Regions from separate parts of the Homo sapiens genome. Here all the other regions are linked to region 1. Evidence: promoter capture Hi-C in 16 types of primary human blood cells and fetal thymus (Javierre and others, 2016). All regions are on one chromosome and are shown on one strand. The core of a region is centred on a gene start or on the middle of the fragment in contact, and the rest is flanking DNA. Distances in the headings are between cores, read along the strand shown.

The links. The method cuts DNA at HindIII sites, captures the fragments that hold promoters and counts their contacts. A CHiCAGO score of 5 or more calls a contact.
Region 2: a contact is called between a fragment that was not itself captured here and the fragment with the promoter of ZNF846 in region 1, in 2 of 17 cell types (non-activated CD4 T cells and erythroblasts). The highest score is 5.1, in non-activated CD4 T cells.
Region 3: the fragment with the promoter of OR7D2 here is called in contact with the fragment with the promoter of ZNF846 in region 1 in 12 of 17 cell types (erythroblasts, total CD4 T cells, naive B cells and 9 more); the score reaches 10.8 in erythroblasts.
Region 4: a contact is called between a fragment that was not itself captured here and the fragment with the promoter of ZNF846 in region 1, in 1 of 17 cell types (neutrophils). The highest score is 5.4, in neutrophils.
Region 5: a contact is called between a fragment that was not itself captured here and the fragment with the promoter of ZNF846 in region 1, in 5 of 17 cell types (activated CD4 T cells, naive CD8 T cells, naive CD4 T cells and 2 more). The highest score is 6.1, in activated CD4 T cells.
Region 6: a contact is called between a fragment that was not itself captured here and the fragment with the promoter of ZNF846 in region 1, in 16 of 17 cell types (naive CD8 T cells, naive CD4 T cells, fetal thymus and 13 more). The highest score is 10.3, in naive CD8 T cells.

The regions. Positions count from the first base shown.
Region 1 is chr19:9,767,179-9,770,188 of GRCh38, reverse strand. It overlaps ZNF846 (zinc finger protein 846), which reads left to right and starts at 1,451. Exons shown (of 6, transcript NM_001077624.3): 1 at 1,451-1,900. RefSeq lists enhancers at 1,167-1,386, 658-1,523 and a silencer at 1,467-1,636. The HindIII fragment of the contact is 9,482 bases long and covers 1-3,010 here.
Region 2 is chr19:8,827,634-8,830,333 of GRCh38, reverse strand. The region is part of intron 2 of ZNF558 (zinc finger protein 558); the gene reads left to right. Among named protein-coding and RNA genes, the nearest start is that of ZNF558, 3.3 kb to the left of the region's middle. The HindIII fragment of the contact is 986 bases long and covers 856-1,841 here.
Region 3 is chr19:9,177,362-9,180,262 of GRCh38, reverse strand. OR7D2 (olfactory receptor family 7 subfamily D member 2) reads right to left here and starts at 1,284. Exons shown (of 3, transcript NM_175883.4): 1 at 1,140-1,284. The HindIII fragment of the contact is 28,883 bases long and covers 1-2,901 here.
Region 4 is chr19:9,122,882-9,125,581 of GRCh38, reverse strand. No RefSeq gene overlaps it. Among named protein-coding and RNA genes, the nearest start is that of OR7G3, 2.7 kb to the left of the region's middle. The HindIII fragment of the contact is 3,883 bases long and covers 1-2,700 here.
Region 5 is chr19:9,198,121-9,200,927 of GRCh38, reverse strand. No RefSeq gene overlaps it. Among named protein-coding and RNA genes, the nearest start is that of OR7D4, 20 kb to the left of the region's middle. The HindIII fragment of the contact is 2,921 bases long and covers 1-2,745 here.
Region 6 is chr19:9,150,166-9,153,060 of GRCh38, reverse strand. The region is part of intron 1 of ZNF317 (zinc finger protein 317); the gene reads right to left. Among named protein-coding and RNA genes, the nearest start is that of ZNF317, 11 kb to the right of the region's middle. The HindIII fragment of the contact is 1,338 bases long and covers 634-1,971 here.

The DNA of each region.
Region 1 (3,010 bases), core at 202-2,701:
ATGAAAATGTTCTAAAATTGATTGTGATGATCGATGCACAAATATATGAATATACAAAAAGCCACGAAACTGTACACTTTAAACAGGTTAATTGTATGCTATGATAATTGTATCACAACAAAACTAAAGGCCTAAAGAAGGAACTGAATGTATCAGAGGCACAGAGCATTTTATGGATTAACAGGTTAATCTTTTTTTTTTTTTTTTTGAGACGGAGTCTCACTCTGTCGCCCAGGCTGGAGTACTGTGGCATCGTATCAGCTCACTGCAACCTCAGTCTCCTAGGTTCAAGCAATTCTCCTGCCTCAGCCTCTCGAGTAGCTGGGATTACAGGCGCCCACCACCACACCCGGCTATTTTTTAAAAAATATTTTTAGTAGAGATGGGGTTTCGGCATGTTGGCCAGGCTGGTCTCGAACTCCTGAACTCACGTGTTCCACCCGCCTCGGCTTCCCAAAGTGCTGGGATTACAGGCGTGAGCCACTGCCCCCAGCCCCATCAGGTTAATCTTTCAAACAGGGTGTCGCTGGTCTCGAACTCCTGGGCTCAAGCGATTCTCCCGCAGTAGCTAGGACTACAGCGGGATTATCTTTGTAAATATGTTTATATCCCTGCAGAGGGTTGAAGAAACAAGGAGAAAATCCTGCAGAAAAGAATTTCCCTAGGGTGGTGGCTCACGCCTATAATCCCAGCACTTTGGGAGGCCAAGGTGGAAGGATCACTGGAGCCCAGGAGTTCCAGATCAGCCTGGGTAACAAAGAGAGACCCTGTCTCTACAAAAAAATAAAAATAAAATAAAAATAAATTAGCCAGGCGTGGTGGCACACACCTGTGGTCCAAGCTGCTTGGGAGGCCGAGGGGGGAGGATCCTTTAGGCTCAGGAGTTCGAGACCAGCCTAGGGAACACAGTGAGACCCAAGTGTCTAGAAAAAGATAACTTAGCTGGGCGTGATGGGCCCAACTGTGGTCCAAGCTACTCCGGAGGCCGAGGCGGGAGGATAGCTTCAGCGCAGGAATTCCAGGCTGCAATGATCTATGACCGAGCCACTGCACTCCAGCCTAGGCGACAGACCGGAGCCTTATCTCAAAAAACTAAAAAGAGAAATTAAAAAAGAAAAGAAAAGCACTCGATGAGCATCCCGCTGTCTGCAATCGAAGCCTTAGGTGACGCCTCCACGCGTGCCCCGCCCGCTGCGCCAGTCCCCGCCTCCAACCCGGCCCTTGGCGCTGGGTTTCCTGGTCCGGCGTCGTTCCCAATATCGACAGATTGATCTGGATCCTGGTCCACCTGGGATGCGAGAAAACGGGACTTTTCTGTACGCGTGTCGAAGAGGTGGCCCCAGCTCTTCTCTCAGCTTCACATCATCCTCATTCCAAAGCTCTTGGGGCTCGGCCCCTACACTTAATGCCGTGCGCAACCGGAAGCGGAAGTGCCAGCCGGCGCGCAGCTATACGTATTCCCCGCTCTCCAGCAGCTTCCTAGCTGGGTTTTCACCTCAGCCAGCGCTCATGCTCAACCTAGGCAGGGCGGGGCAGGAGGGCCTAGCGGGAGGCGGAGCGAGGGTCGGAGGGTGACGCTCCGGACTTCTGCTAGGTCTGAGACGCGCCGGCCTCCCGCTGCTGCTCCGGAGAAGCGGCGCCTCCTCCCCGCCAGGACCCCGAGGCGGGGGGTTCCCGCCTTCTCTTCTGAGCGCCTCTTCCCGCTGCGCCCGCATCAGTCTGGGCCTGGCCCAGGGTCCCCGGTGGAGACGTGTTTTTTTCTCCAACCACCGTGCCCCTCTGTTTAAAAGCAGCCAGTCAACCTTTGTGTCCTTTCTCCAGAAGGAAAAGCATCTCAGCTGTTGTGGAAAAGGGCCCCAGCGTCCTCTTGTCACCGACAGGGCGATTGCAGTGCGTTCCGGTGAGCCCTGGACGGAGGAGATGATCTGGCTGTGGGAGGGCATCGCTTATTGAAGTTTGCGAAATTGCTCAGCAGTTAAATGCTTTGTCAAGTGTGCAGGAGTTGTAGGTTTATAGAAATAAAAGCAAATATTGCCACAGTTATAAAGCAAAGTAGCAATACTCCGCTGTGTTTTTGAGATCAAAAGCAGCTGAACTTCCTAGGTCAGTACCTCCCAAAGAGCTTCAAAACGGAGGGGCTTCCAGGAAGTAGGATGCCGCCTTCATTATACCAGTATCAGAAATTACAGTTGTATTAACTGTGAAAGAGACATGTTTTGATTCAGCGTTTTTCCTCTCGTATATATACATATTTTGAGACGGAGTTTCGCTCTTATTGCCCAGGCTGGAGTGCAATGGCGTGATATAGGCTCACTGTAAACTCTGTCTCCCGGTCCAAGCGATTCTCCTGCCTCAGCATGCTGAGTAACTGGGATTACAGGCATGTGCCACCACGCCCGGCTAATTTTGCATTTTTAGTAGAGACGGGGTTTCACCATGTTGGTTGGGCTGGTCTCGAACTCCTGACCTCGTGATCCACCCTCCTCGGACTCCCAAAGTGCTGGAATTACAGGTATAAGCCACCGCGCCTGGCCTTCCCCCTCATATATTTTTATTTATTTATTTACGTTTTAAAGACAGGGTCTTGGTTTGTTGCCCAGGCTATCTGTAGATTGAATATTCTAAACCAAAGAAAATGTGAAAGGCCAGAATATTGAACACCTATTATATATCCTTGTTGTAGACTGATCATTTGTTAATATTTTGCATGTTTTCTGTTTCTTTGCATCTCTTGTGTAGATCAATGTGTATTGGCCGGGTGCGGTAACTTAAACACCTGTAATCCTGGCACTTTGGGAGGCCGAGGTGGGCGGTTCACCTGAGGTTGGGAGTTCCAGACCAGCCCGACCAACATGGAGAAACCCTGTCTCTACTAAAAATACAAAATTAGCCAGGTGTGGTGGGGCATGCCTGTAATCTTAGCTACTCGGGAGGCTGAGGCAGGAGAATCGCTTGAACCCGGGAGGCAGAGGTTGTGGTGAGCTGAGATCGTGGCAATGCACTACAGCCT
Region 2 (2,700 bases), core at 99-2,598, 940 kb after region 1:
TAAAGAACTACCTGAGAGTTTTCACACTGCTATAAATAACTCCCTGAGACTGAGTGACTTACAAAGGAAAGAAGTTTAATTGACTCAGTTCTGCATGGCGGGGGAGGCCTCAGGAAACTTACGATCATGGCAGAAAGCAAAGGGAAAGCAAGGCACGTCTTACATGGCAGCAGGAGAGAGAGAGAAGACATAAACGCCAAACTTCTAAACCATCAGATCTTGTGGGAACTTACTATCAGGAGAACAGCAAGGGGGAAGTCCGCCCCCATGATTCAGTCACCTCCTACCAGGACCCTCCTCTGACACATAGGGATTATTACAACTCGAGATGAGATTTGGGTGGGGGGACACAGAGCCAACGATATCACCTCCTAATAGGAATTAACTTTGTTTCTTAAAACTTCTCTGAAATAACAGTATGGTGATTCATATTGCAGAGAATCATGTTAAGTAATCTAGTATTAAATTGTGGGGTTTCTACTAATTGTGTGTGTGTTCACCTTTTCCATTCTAGCTTTCCTACAGCATTCTTGAAGGAATGTTTACTTATCATGCAATAGATATTATTTGAGTGCACAGTTAATGGTGACCAACCATCCTCATTTTTTCAGGACCAAGGGGTTTGCTAGGGCACAGGGCATCCAGTGTTCAAACCGGGACAATCCTTGGCAAACCAGGTCGCCTCCATGAGTCAGGTCCTAGGTCAGATGCACAGGGACCCTGGAGGACCTGAAATGGCCCCTGTCCTACATAAAGTTTACCTTCTAACAGGGAAGATAAATTTTAAACCATGAATGACAGGAGTGATGTGGGAGCTTGGCACTAGTGAACTTGATCAGAGGGAACAGGGAAGCTTTCTTGGGAAGGATATTTAGCTTGAGAGCTTAAGTTGTTACAGAACCAAACTGGGGTCTGCTCACCTGGTGGTGCAGTGAAACCAGATGTCTATATTGAGGGTTGCTACGATAGATAGAAAGGCTTTTATTGCACAGCACTAAGCAAGGAGGACCAGACATTAAATGTTCAAATCCTGGCCTCCCCAGTGGCTTTTAGGCAAGGAATTTTTTTTTTTTTGAGATGGAGTCTCACTCTGTTACCCAGGCTGGAGTACTGTGTTGCAATCTCAGCTCACTGCAACCCCCGGCCTCCCGGGTTCAAGCAGTTCTGCCGCAGCCTCCTGAGTAGCTGGGATTACAGGCGCCTACCACCATGCCCGGTTAATTTTTGTATTTTCAGTAGAGACGGGGTTTCACCATGTTGGCCCGGCTGGTCTTAATCTCCTGACTTCGTGATCCACCCGCCTCAGCCTCCCAAAGTGCTGAGATGATACAGGCATGAGCCACCACACCCGGCCTTTTTTTTTTTTTTAATGAGACAGAATCTCACTTGGTCACCCAGGCTGGAGTGCAATGGCACGATCTCAGCTCACTGCAACGTCTGCCTCCCAGGTTCAAGTGATTTTCCTGCCTCAGCCTCCCCAGTCCCTAGGATTACAGGCACATACCACCACACCTGGCAAATTTTTTGTATTTTGAGTAGAGACAGAGTTTCACCATGTTAGCCAGGTTGGCCTCAAACTCCTGACCTCAGGTGATCCGCCTGCCTAGGCCTCCCAAAGTGCTGGGATTACAGACATGAGCCACCGTGCCCGGCTAGGCAAGGATTTCTGAAGGCAATGGTAAGTTACAGAAAAGCAGAAGCTACAGGCAAAATCATAAAGCAATACATGGAGGTTACACACTGGTTTAGACTTAAAAGGGCAAGGATGTCTTGAAGCAGGAGCTTGTCATAGGTAGATTCAAAGATTTTTCTGATTTGTAATTGGTTAAAGAAAAGAAGCTTTGTTTAAAAATTTAGAGTCAGTAGGAAAATGTTAACTGGCTGGGAGAAGTGACTTTCTCCAAGCCCCTCAAGAAGAAACTTAGCACAAAGAACGCTGAAGCTCAGCCTTCATGTCCCGCTTATCTGGGGTCTCTGAGCCAGCAGCTCCATTTGGTGGGGTCCTCAGTGGGAGTCCCAGCCTCTGAAAGGCAACTCAGGGACGCATGTTAAGATGTTATCTTTAGTTTCCATGGGGAAAGCGAACATCTCTGGAGCCTTAACTTCTTTGGCTGTTGTTTTAGGTTACTATTACCTTCCTGTTTAACAAGTTCCATATTTACTTTTGGGGCTAGCTGGATGCTCGGAATTTCCCTTAAAGGAACTTCAGGATTTTCCTTTATTTTCCCACTTGGGGTTCACAGGCCCCTGAAAAAGGGAATTGCTGCTCCATCTCCAAGTTGGGGTCAGATGTAGCTAGTCATAGGGCTCGACTAGAGTGAGGGGACAGGGTTATGTCCAAGAGAGCACTGCCGTCGAAGAAGCTGTGTAAGGAAAGGCCCTGCAGCAGGAGAGAGGCTGCCACGCTCCCTGCACTGGGAACACAGGGATGGCTGAAGCCGAGACAAGAACAGGGAAAGAAGCTGGGCGCAGTGGCTCACACCTGTAATCCCAGCACTTTAGGAGACCAAGGTGGGCTGATCACCTGATGTCAGAAGTTCAAGACCAGCCTGGCCAACATGGTGAAACCCCGTCTCTACTAAAAATACGAAAATTAGCTGGGTGTGGTGGTGCACACCTGTAGTCCCAGCTGCTCGGGAGGCTGAGACAAGAGAATTGCTTGAACCTGGGAGGCTGAGGTTGCAGTGAGCAGAGATTGCA
Region 3 (2,901 bases), core at 35-2,534, 590 kb after region 1:
TGGGAGGCCAAGGCAGGAGGTTTGCTTGAGCCCAGAAAGACCCTGTCTCAAAAAAAAAAAAAGTCAACTTAAACACAATTAATTACAACTAATCAGTGTCATCAGCTTTCTTATGTATCTGCAAACAGCCATGAGAAAAAATAAGAGGAAAAAAAGTCCATTCACAATTGCAATGATAATATATGTAACATCTGGTGCAGAGTGAACATTTAATACATACTTGTTTTGTTTTGCTTTGCTTTGTTGATTTTTTTTTTTTTAGACGGAGTTTTGTTCTTGTTGCCCAGGCTGAAGTGCAATGGTGCAATCTCAGCTCACTGCAACCTCTGCCTCCCAGGTTCAAGAAATTCCCCTGCCTCAGCCTCCCAAATGGCTGGGACTACAGGCACACACCACCATGCCCGGCTAATTTTGTATTTTTAGTAGAGACAGGGTTTCACCATGTTGGCCAGGATGGTCTCGATCTCTTGACCTTGTGATCCACCCGCCTCGGCCTCCTAAAGTTCTGGGATTATAGGCATGAGCCACTGCACCCGGCCGAGAACTATTATATTATACTAGAGAAGAAAAAGGAAGGTGTTAGCAGGTAGACTGAAAGGAATCCACTCAAGGAAGTGCCAGTTCCTACTGACATTGAGAAAGTCACTAGTTTCCAGAATGAAAGGCCATCAGAGGTGGAGGTGACAGAAACAGTTGCAATAGAATCTTTTTTTTTTTTTGAGACAGCGTCTCACTCACTCTGTCACCCAGGCTGGAGTGCAGTGGCGTGATCTTGGCTCATGGCAACCTCTGTCTCCCGGGTTCAAGCCATTCTCCTGACTCAGGCTCCCGAGTAGCTGGGATTACAGGCATCCGCCACCATGCCCAGCTAATTTTTGTATTTTTAGATGAGATGGGGTTTCACCAAGTTGGCCAGGCTTGTCTTAGACTCCTGGCCTCAAGCGATCCGCCTGCCTCAGCCTCCCAAAAGTTGCAATGCCTTAAGACATCTATAACCAGGTAAGGGAATCCTAGAGACATTTTAAAAATCATGAGACATTATCAACCCTGTTACCTCCATCTCTGTTCCTCCCCACACTACTTTTTAAATCCTTTTCACACACGGTACTAACAAGGATAGTGTGAGTCACTCAACTGACATTGCTTGAAAAAAAAAAATGCTGGTATGACGTCTTCCTCCCCTGACTGTTGAATGCTGAAGACAGAATCTAGCAGGGAAAGGCGGGGAGATGGAACTTGTCATGAAGTCATCCTAACTCTCCTCTCTAAGATGCATGAGTGTGGCGTCAGGAAACTGTCCAGGTGAGGTGTTTTAGGGAAGTATTTATGGTTTCTCAAGCCCCAGGGAGCTGATGTCTCATCCTTCCTCATTAAATCCACTGTTCCAGTGATGTTCTACTCTCCAACCCATTCGGCTCCCTTGGGATCAAGAGCAAATGGCAGAAAGGTATGATGTGTTCTAATTCTGTTTCCAAGAAGGCAGCTCTGAAGCCAGGTGACTCTCTCTGCACCTCCCACCCTCTTGGGGCCTCTTTATTCTTGGAAGAGCTTTCATCACTATTGGTTTGGCTTTGAGATAAAGAGGTTTTCCCCTCTGGAATGTGTCGCAGAAGCTACAAAGACCCATCTCTCTGTAATCCCAGTGCCTAAGGGTCTCAAGGTAACACAGAAGAAAATAGAGATGCAACTATTTCCGTGAATCCCCTGTGATCGCGTTGGCTGCAGGGCGTTAAACAGGCTGTGGACATGTCGTAAGTCCTGTTTCAAGAGAGGGAGAGTCAACCATTGCGAGATACAGCAAGATTTCTCTTCAAACAGCCTGCTCAGCTTCTTATTCTCTAATTCCAAGTACCCCCCCCACACACTTTCTTCTCCTTTTCTTCTTTCTGATTTTGCTGCATGCCCAGATATGCCATAGCCCCAGCTCACATTTCTTTCCTTATTTAAGAATAGACTAGCTGTCTATTCCTCTGTAGAAGACCCCTTCCTCCTCTCCTCTGTCTCCCATCACACACCCACCTTATCTAAGACAGTTTAAATGTGTAACCAATCAAGTCTAGTTTAGATTGTGCTGTCCGACCCCAGCCAATGGGGAAAGGACACACAAAGTCAAGAGTCGCATTAAGAATAAAAGTTGCTACTCTCCTTTGTTCAGGGTGCTCTTGTAGCAGCCAACCCTACGAGAAGCACCCTTCTGCGCAGAAGTAAATTTGCTTTGCTGAGAAATCCTTTGTTTGAGTGCTCATTTTTCTTTATGACTCCAAGATTTATTTCTAACAACCATGTAAAACGATGCTATAAGGCTAAGCAAAATAAAGGCTGAAGAATATCCATCACATTTAATGGCATGGAAAACATTAGAAACAGCGATCTGGGTAGAGTGATGGGGAAAATTTCATTGATGGCAAGTTTGGGAGGAACTGAACAATAAGAAAAAAGTTTTTTTCAATTTTTAAAATGATGGTAAAATATACATAACATACAGTTCACCATCTTAACCATTTTAAGTGTACTATTCAGTGGCATTAAGTATATTCACAGCAGCCATCACTATCCTCCATATTCAGAATCTTCTCATCTCCCCAAGCTGAAACTCTGTCCCGTAACACTCATCCCTCATTCACCCTCCCCAGCCCCTAATGAACCACCATACCACTTTCTGTCTCTATAATTCTGACTGTGGTACCTACTTCATAGACGGAAGTATACACTGTTTGTCTTTTTGTGACTGACTTATTTCATTTAAGTGAAATATTGCCAAGGTTCATGTATGCTGTATATGTGTCCGAATGTTCTTTCTCTCTCTCTCTCCTCTCTCTTTTTTTTTCTTTCTTCTTTTTTGTCAGGGTCTTACTCTGTCACCTAGGCTGGAGTGCAGTGGCACAATCATAGCTCATTACA
Region 4 (2,700 bases), core at 35-2,534, 640 kb after region 1:
AATACATGAGACCAGAGATCAGATGGTTCAGGGTGATAGTTTTGGAATCGGACCACGTGGACTTGAGTTCTTTTTGGATTGATTGACTGACTAATTGATTTTTGAGACAGTCTCTCACTTTGTTGCCCAGGCTGGAGTGCAGTGGTGTGATCACAGCTCACTGCTGCCTCGAATTCCTGGGCTAAAGCGATCCTCTGGACTCAGCCTGACGAGTAGCTGAGACTGCAGGTGCATGCCACCACACCTGGCTTTTTTTAAATTTTTGTATCAATGCATAAGAGATGTACATTGTTTCAGGATGCATGTGATAGTGTAATACATTTGTATAATCTGCAAGGATTTGTTACTTTAGATATCCATCACCTTAAATATTTGTCTTATCTTTATGCTCCAACCATTCCAATTGTTCTCTTCTAGGTATTTTGAAATATACAATGGATTATTTTGAACTATAGTCACCCTACTGGTCTATCCAATACTAAGTCTTTTTTTAAAAAAAATTAAATTTAATTAAAAATTTAAAAACTTATTTATTTATTTATTTATTTATTTATTTATTGAGACAGAGTCTTGCTCTGTCGCCCAGTCTAGAGTGCAGTGGCTCAATTTCGGCTTACTGCAACCTCCACCTCTGGGGCTCAAGCGATTCTCCTGCCTCAGCCTCCTGAATAGCTGGGATTACAGGCGCCTGCTACTGTGCCTGGCTCATTTTTGTATTTTTAGTAGAGACAGAGTTTCACCATGTTGGCCAGGCGGGCCTTGAACTCCTGACCTCAGGTAATCTGCCCGCCTCAGCCTCCCAAAGTGCTGGGATTACAGGCATGAGCCACCATGCCCAGCTAGCTAATTTATTTTTAATTTAAAAATTAAGTAATTTATTTACAATTTAAAAATCAAGTAATTAATTTTTAATTTTAATATTAAATGATTAATTTCTTTTTTAGAGAGAGCCTTGCTCTGTTGCCGAGGTTGAACTACAGTGGTGTGATTATAACTCACTGCAGCCTCAAACTCCTGGCCTCAAACAATCCTTCTGCCTCAGCCTTCCAAAGTGCTGGGATTAAGCAGTGTGAGCCACTGTGCCCAGGTCGCCTATACTTTAAATCATTTCTAGATTACTTATATTACCTAGCATAATGTTAATCCTATGTAAATAGTTGTATTACTTAATATTGTATTTTTGTAATATTCTTATTTAATATTTTTAAAATTTTCTTTAATATTTTTAATATTTTTGATCCACAGTTGGTTGAGTCCATGAATGTGGTACTGGCAGATATGGAAGGCTGACTGTACTTGGTATATATATTGTTAAAATTGTCAGAATCAAAATGGAGTCACTTATTAAAAAAAAAAAAGGCTGGGTGTAGCGGCTATCAAAAAAGTCTGCACTTTGATAGGCTGAAGTGGGCGGATCACAAGGTCAGGAGTTCGAGACCAGCCTGGCCAACATGGTGAAACCCCATCTCTATGAAAAATACAAAAATTAGCCAGACGTTGTGGCGCATATCTGTAATCCCAGCTACTCAGGAGGCTGAGGCATGAGAATCGCTTGAACCTGGGAGGCGGAGGTTGCAGTGAGCCAAGATCGCACCACTGCATTCCAGCCTGGGCGACAGAGCAAGACTCCATCTCATGAAAAACAAACAAACAAACAAAAATGAAAAAAACAAAAACATCCTGACAAGTAAAGCTAGGGAAGGCCATGAAGAGATTTATTTCACTTGCATGCCTAATAACAAAAACTATCACAAGACTACAAAAACTATCACGAGACGACAAAAACTATCACGAGACGACAAAAACCACAACCTTGCACAAAAGGCTGTTGCAACCTTACACAAAAAATATTTCTGCAAGTACATCTGCCCAGCAACTGCCTGTCCAGCTTCAGACTGGCATCACCCTTGTTATTAGTTATTACTGTGAAGGATAATTATTTCAAAACAATTATGTAACCTTCCTCATTTTTCCATTAAAAAACTTTGTCTTCCTTTACCTCCTTGAATGCATACATAGTTTATGATGGCACGCGTATCGCTATTGCAATGCTTTCTTTGGCAATAAACATCATTTTCTTTTAGATAGCCTCTTTCTGTTATTTAGGTTGACTATCTATAGTTATATTGATTTATGTTTGTGCTGTTGAATTTCAAAGGAATTGAAATCAATATGCTGAAGAGATATCTGCACTCTCATGTTCATTGCAGTATTAGTCACAATAGCCAGGAAATGTAATCAACCTGAATGTCCATCAACATATAAGTGGATAAAGAAAATGTGGTATGGCAGGCACGGTGGCTCACGCCTGTAATCCCAGCACTTTGGGAGCCTGAGGTAGGTAGATTACTTGAGGTCAGGAGTTCAAGACTAGCCTGGCCAACATGGTGAAACCGTGTCTCCACTAAAAATACAAAAATTAGCCAGGCATGATGACGTATGCCTGTAATCCCAGCTACTCAGGAGGCTGAGGCAGGAGAATCACTTGAACCCAGGAGGCGGAGGTTGCAGTGAGCCGAGATCGCACCACTGCACTCTAGCCTGGGCAACAGAGTGAGACTTTGTCTGGAAAAGAAAAAGAAAATGTGGTATATGATAGAGTACTATGCACCCTTTAAAAAGAAGGAAATTCTGTCATTCGCCACAACATGGAGGAACCTGGAGAACATTATGCTAAGTGAAATAAGCCAGGTACAGAAA
Region 5 (2,807 bases), core at 36-2,535, 570 kb after region 1:
CAAATCATGGCTATTGTGACTAGTGCTGTAATAAACATGGGAGTGCAGATATCTCTTCAATATATGGATTCCCTTATGGGGGGGTATATACTTAGCAATGGAATTGCTGTATCTTTTGTTTGTTTGTTTGTTTTGAGATGGAATCTCGCTCTGTCGCCTAGGCTAGAGTGCAGTGGCGCGACCTTGGCTCACTGCAACCTCCGCCTCCCAGGTCAAGCGATTCTCCTTCCTCAGCCTTCCGAGTAGCTGGGACTACCGGCGCCCGCCACCACGCTCGGCTAATTTTTTGTATTTTTAGTAGAGACAGGGTTTCACCATGTTAGCCAGGATGGTCTCGATCTCCTGACCTCGTGATCCACCCGCCTTGGCCTCCTAAAGTGCTGAGAATACAGGCATGAGCCACCGCACCTGGCCCGGAATTGCTGCATCTTATGGTAGCTCTATTTGTAGTATTTTGAGGAAACTCCAACTCGTTCTCCATAATGGATGGACTAACTTGCATTCCCACCAACAGTGTGCAATTGTTCCCCTTTCTCCACATCCTTGTGAGCATTTGCTATTGCCTGACTTTTTGATAAAAGCCATTCTAAATGGGGTGAGATGATATCTCCTTGTAGTTTCGATTTGCATTTCTCTCTCTCTCTTTTTTTTTTTTTGAGATGGAGTCTTGCTCTGTCACCCAGGCTGGAGTGCAGAGGCACGATCTCAGTTCACTGCAACCTCTGTCTCCCAGGTTCAAGTGATTCTCCTGCCTCAGCCTCCTGAGTAGCTGGGATTACAGGTGCCCACCACCATGCCCAGCTAATTTTTGTATTTTCAGTAGAGATGGGGTTTCACCATGTTGGCCAGGCTGGTCTCAAACTCCTGACCTCAAGTGATCCACCCGCCTCAGCCTCCCAAAGTGCTGGGATTACAGGCATGAGCCAATGCGCCTGACCTGCATTTCTCTTAAAAGAGATTTTTATTTCTGATGCCTCCTCTGTGTCAAGCAGGTTAGAGACTCTGGAGAATTAGAGATGAAAGAGACTCAGTTGTTTCTGTCACAATAATCAGTACTTAATTATATAAGGACAAAAATAAAATGTCCTGTGGGAAGTACAGAAACAGTAACTTCAGGTCACAGGATATTTCAGTTGAGTGATATAAAGATTAATCTTAAAATATTAATAACAATTTCTAGAATACACGTTGCCTTTACTTTATGCATCCATCACAAATAGATCCCACAGGGAGCCCCCATGATCTGCTTAATCAATACTGAATGTATCTGTGTCAACTAGAAATCAACTCAGGTGGCAATGTTGAGTCTCAGAAACACTAACATCTTGCCCCCTGCCACACAGATAAGTGGAATAACAGGATTTTAAAAAAATTATAGGTTGATGCAAAAGTAATTGAGGTTTTTGCCATTACTGTTGTCACCAACCTAATAAATGATCAGTCTCTGAGTCTCAGGCATGAACCTTTTTTATGTTTCCCAGCTATCAGAAAGTTGTAAGCAGAGGTAAGAGGTCTTAACCACAGGCACATCGGAGGTGCATTTTCAAACTGTTTCCAGATTCCTGAGTAGGAATGAGGCCAAAACTCTGATTTTATTTCTCCTTTCAGGAGGTGGAGAGCTGCAAGGAAAGCCAGGAACAGGGGCAAGGGAGAGATGCACCCTGAAGGATCCTGTGCCAGTTCTTTCTGGGATCTTTGATGTGATCTCAGCTGCCCTTTCTATACTTGATACAGTGAACGTAGCACCCACTGGTCTAGCTGTGGTCTACCAGGAACCCACTGGTAAGCAGTGAGCACACCAGGGGTCCAGAGTGACAGGGATTCGAGAGGGCAGGTTGGATGCAGGAAGAGGCCTAGCCAAATGCCATGTGCAAGGATTTAGATGGCCTGATTCAAACATGGCTTTACTCCTCTCTACTTCATGAAATACTACAAGTTACATAAAAATGCACAGCTCCTTTCCTCGTGCAAAATAATAATAATGTGTGCACTTATGGATTGCAGAAGGCTATGCAGATAAAATGAAACAAACCACATAGAACACAGAACTGGGCGCCTGGCATTCAGGAAGCCCTCAGGAAAAGTTCATGATGTCATAGTGACTGTCCTCTTCCTCCTCATCCTCATCATCAGCTTCATAATCCTTTTACAGTGTTCATGGAATAGCTTAGAGAGACCTATTTTTTCCTAGCTTCAGTGAGATGTCTATAGCAAGTAGAACCAGTGGAGGGAGAAAGTAAAACTTTGAGTGAGATTTCAGAGTCCCCACCACAATCAAGAACATAAACTCCACAGTTGTCTGAGCTGATATTTTGCACATTGATGTCCTCCTATCTGCCACTCCACTGTCCTGTTTGTCCTGAGGATGAGGAAAGAAGGCTCCCGACCATCCCTCAGCACTCACTGAGCTGCGCTTCCCCTCTGCTGGGCCATGATCATGGAGAGCAGGTCCGCTGTCCTCCCTGCGTGGTGCACGATGGAGGCTCAGGCTCCGTCCTCAGGACTGGCAGGAAGACAGGGTCAGACATGAGCCTCCTGATGCAGACGACAGGTGTGGAGCCCACTGGACTGGAAGCTCACACTGCAGGGCTGGAGGCACAGGCTGAGTATTCACTATGCTATGGCCTTGGGGGCTCAAGGCACAGAGCTCCTCATTAGCCAAATTGGCCCAAGTTCCCCAATCTCTAAGGACTTCCTCATAATAATTCAGGAAGAAGAAGAGAAAAATGAGTGTCCATAGAAGCTTTTGGGCTCTTCCTCTAATCAGGAGAAAGCTTGTGTGTATTATTCACTTTTTTCTTTTCTTT
Region 6 (2,895 bases), core at 53-2,552, 620 kb after region 1:
AATTAATGAAAACAAAAGTTGGTTCTTTCAAAAAGATCAACAAAGGTGACAAAACTACAGCTAGAATTACTAACAAAAAAAGATGCAAGTAACTAAAATCATCAGTGGAAGTGGGACATTACTACCGACCTTACGGAAATTCAAAGGGCTGTAAGAGAATGCCATGAACAATTATGCACCAACACATTAGATCATCTACACTAGCAGTCCCCACCCAATTTGGCATCAGAGACTGGTGTCATGGAAGACAATTTTTCCATGGATGGTGAGGTGAGGGGGGATGGTTTTGGGATGACTTGAGTGCATTACATTTATTGTGCACTTTATTTCTATTATTATTACATTGTAATATATGGTAAAATAATTATACAACTCACCATAATATAGAATTAGTGGAAGCCCTGAGAGTGTTTTCCTGAAACTAGATGGTCCCATCTGGAGGTGATGGGAGACACTGACAGATCATCAGGCATTAGATTTTCATAAGGAGTGTGCAATCTAGATCCCTTGCATGTGCAGTGCACAATAGGGTCTGCGCCCCTATGAGAATCTAATGCTGCTGATGATCTGACAGGAGGTGGAGTTCAGGGGTAATGTGAGTGATGGGGAGCCGCTGTAAATACAGATGAAGCTTCACTCACTTGCCCTCCGCTCACCTCCTGCGGCAGGGCCTTGTTCCTAAAAGGCCAGGGACCGGTACCTGTCTGTGGCCCAGGGCTTGGGGATCAATGCTCTAGATGTATCAAATTCCTTGAAACATACCCAAACAGGCTCTAGAAGAAAAAGAAAATTGAGAGACCTATAACAAGAGACTGAGGCAGTCATCAAAAGCCATTAAATAAAAAGTCCAGGACCAGCTGGGCACGGTGGCTCACGCCTGTAATCCCAGCATTTTGGGAGGCCGAGGCGGGTGGATCAGGAGGTCAGGAGATCGAGACCATCCTGGCTAACACGGTAAAACCCCATCTCTACTAAAAATACAAAAAATTAGCCAGGCGTGGTGATGAGTGCCTGTAGTCCCAGCTACTCGGGAGGCTGAGGCAGGAGAATGGTGTGAACCTGGGAGGCGGAGCTTGCAGTGAGCCGAGATTGCGCCACTGCACTCCAGCCTGGGCGACAGAGCAAGACTCCGTCTCAAAAAAAAAAAAAAAAAGTCCAGGACCAAGGGGCTTCACTGGTGAACCCTACCAAACATTTAGAATTAACATCAAGGACATTATCAAGAAAGTGAATGAGACACAGAATGGTGGAAAATATTTGCAAATCATGTATGTGATAGGGATTTAATATCATTATAAACTCAACAACAAAGACAACCCAGTAAAAAAGTGGGCAGGAGACTTGAACAGAACAGACATTTCTCCAAATTTACAGAAATGAACTGTAAACACATGAAAAGATGATTAACAACATCAGTCATTAAGGAAATAACATCAAAACCACAATACATTGGTGAGGTATGGTGGCCCACACCTCGGGAGGGGATTTAATTTGCTTTGTATGAACATGCCTCCTCTCTCTGGCTTCCACCGCGACTCTCATGACAGCACTGATGTAAGAACCGTGACGCTGCTACTTTAACATCTGACTCAGATCAATAATCAATATTACCACTTTTAAACATTACCAGGGTTATAACAATCTTTTTCAACATCAATTAGTATTTCTGCTATTGGAATTGTTTTAGATATTCAGAAACATTTCAAAACAATAATATAGGAAGTGTGTTTTAACGTATAAACTCTGCCTTGGGGATTCATTATTCAACACCAAATTTGATCTTGGGCCAACTCAAAGATGCATGACGCTTTCATTCTTTTTACAAAGCCCTTTTCTAGTCATTGTGCCTTTGGGTTCTGACATTAAGTCACTGCTGAGGAAGGGGAGAGAGGGTGACAGAGGCTCAGTTCCTGAGGCACAGTATCTCCATCCTCACCTACCATTCATTCATTCATGCTCAACTAACAAGCTTCTGCAGGTCCCATTCCACCTTTCCCCACCAACATTAATGCCAATTCTACAAATAACGACATGTGTAGTGTTTACAAGGTATGAGACATTCTCCTGAGTCTTTCCAGGGCCACTCCTATTTAATCCTCACAACCTCCCGGAATTATTCTCAAGTACCCAGAGAATAAGGCACCAAGGGTCCGAGACACTTGGTCAAGGTCATAGGTGGAAGTTGTGAGCCCAGCTGACGTGACTGCGGAGCCACATCTTGTTGCCTCTCAAAGTGACCTATGTCACCTGTACTGTCCCCTATGTGGGAACTCCTTGACACTACATCTTGACCCTTCCTTTGCCTGACCTCCTGACACATCATCTTGCTCACTATGAATCTATCTCCCTCTTCCTGGGAATGCCACTGCTCTTGCAGCCATAGCCCACTCATCCCAGTCTGTGCTCACATCTCTGGTTGCTCTTTTGAAGACTCTGGCTTGAGATCCCTCCTCTGCCCAGCCCCTAAAGGTCAGGGTTCCCCTGGGCCCCTCTCCCCCATCTCCCACAGGTCCACATTGTGAAACACCCCCACCATTTGGAGGTGCTGACACCCAGGTTCTGATTGCACTTCTGTGAAGGTCTCCCTGTCCCTGAGGCCTCAGTAGACTCCCCTTTAATGCAAGCCCACAGTTCTGCTCATTCCCCTCCCAAGAGTCAGTTCATCAAAACTCAGTTTTCTCATCTGGAAACTGAAGACTTTAACACTGGGTTATGTATGGAACTCTATAGGCTCAGTAAACAAACATTCACTCTAAAATGCCATTATCATTAAAATAAAATGACCACTGACGATTTCACAATTACTTAACAGAATTGTTCATTTATAGTGGGTGCCACTCTCCGCTCCCTGGCACCTGCCCCACCCAGAATGACTCAGAGTGAGTGGCAGCCAGG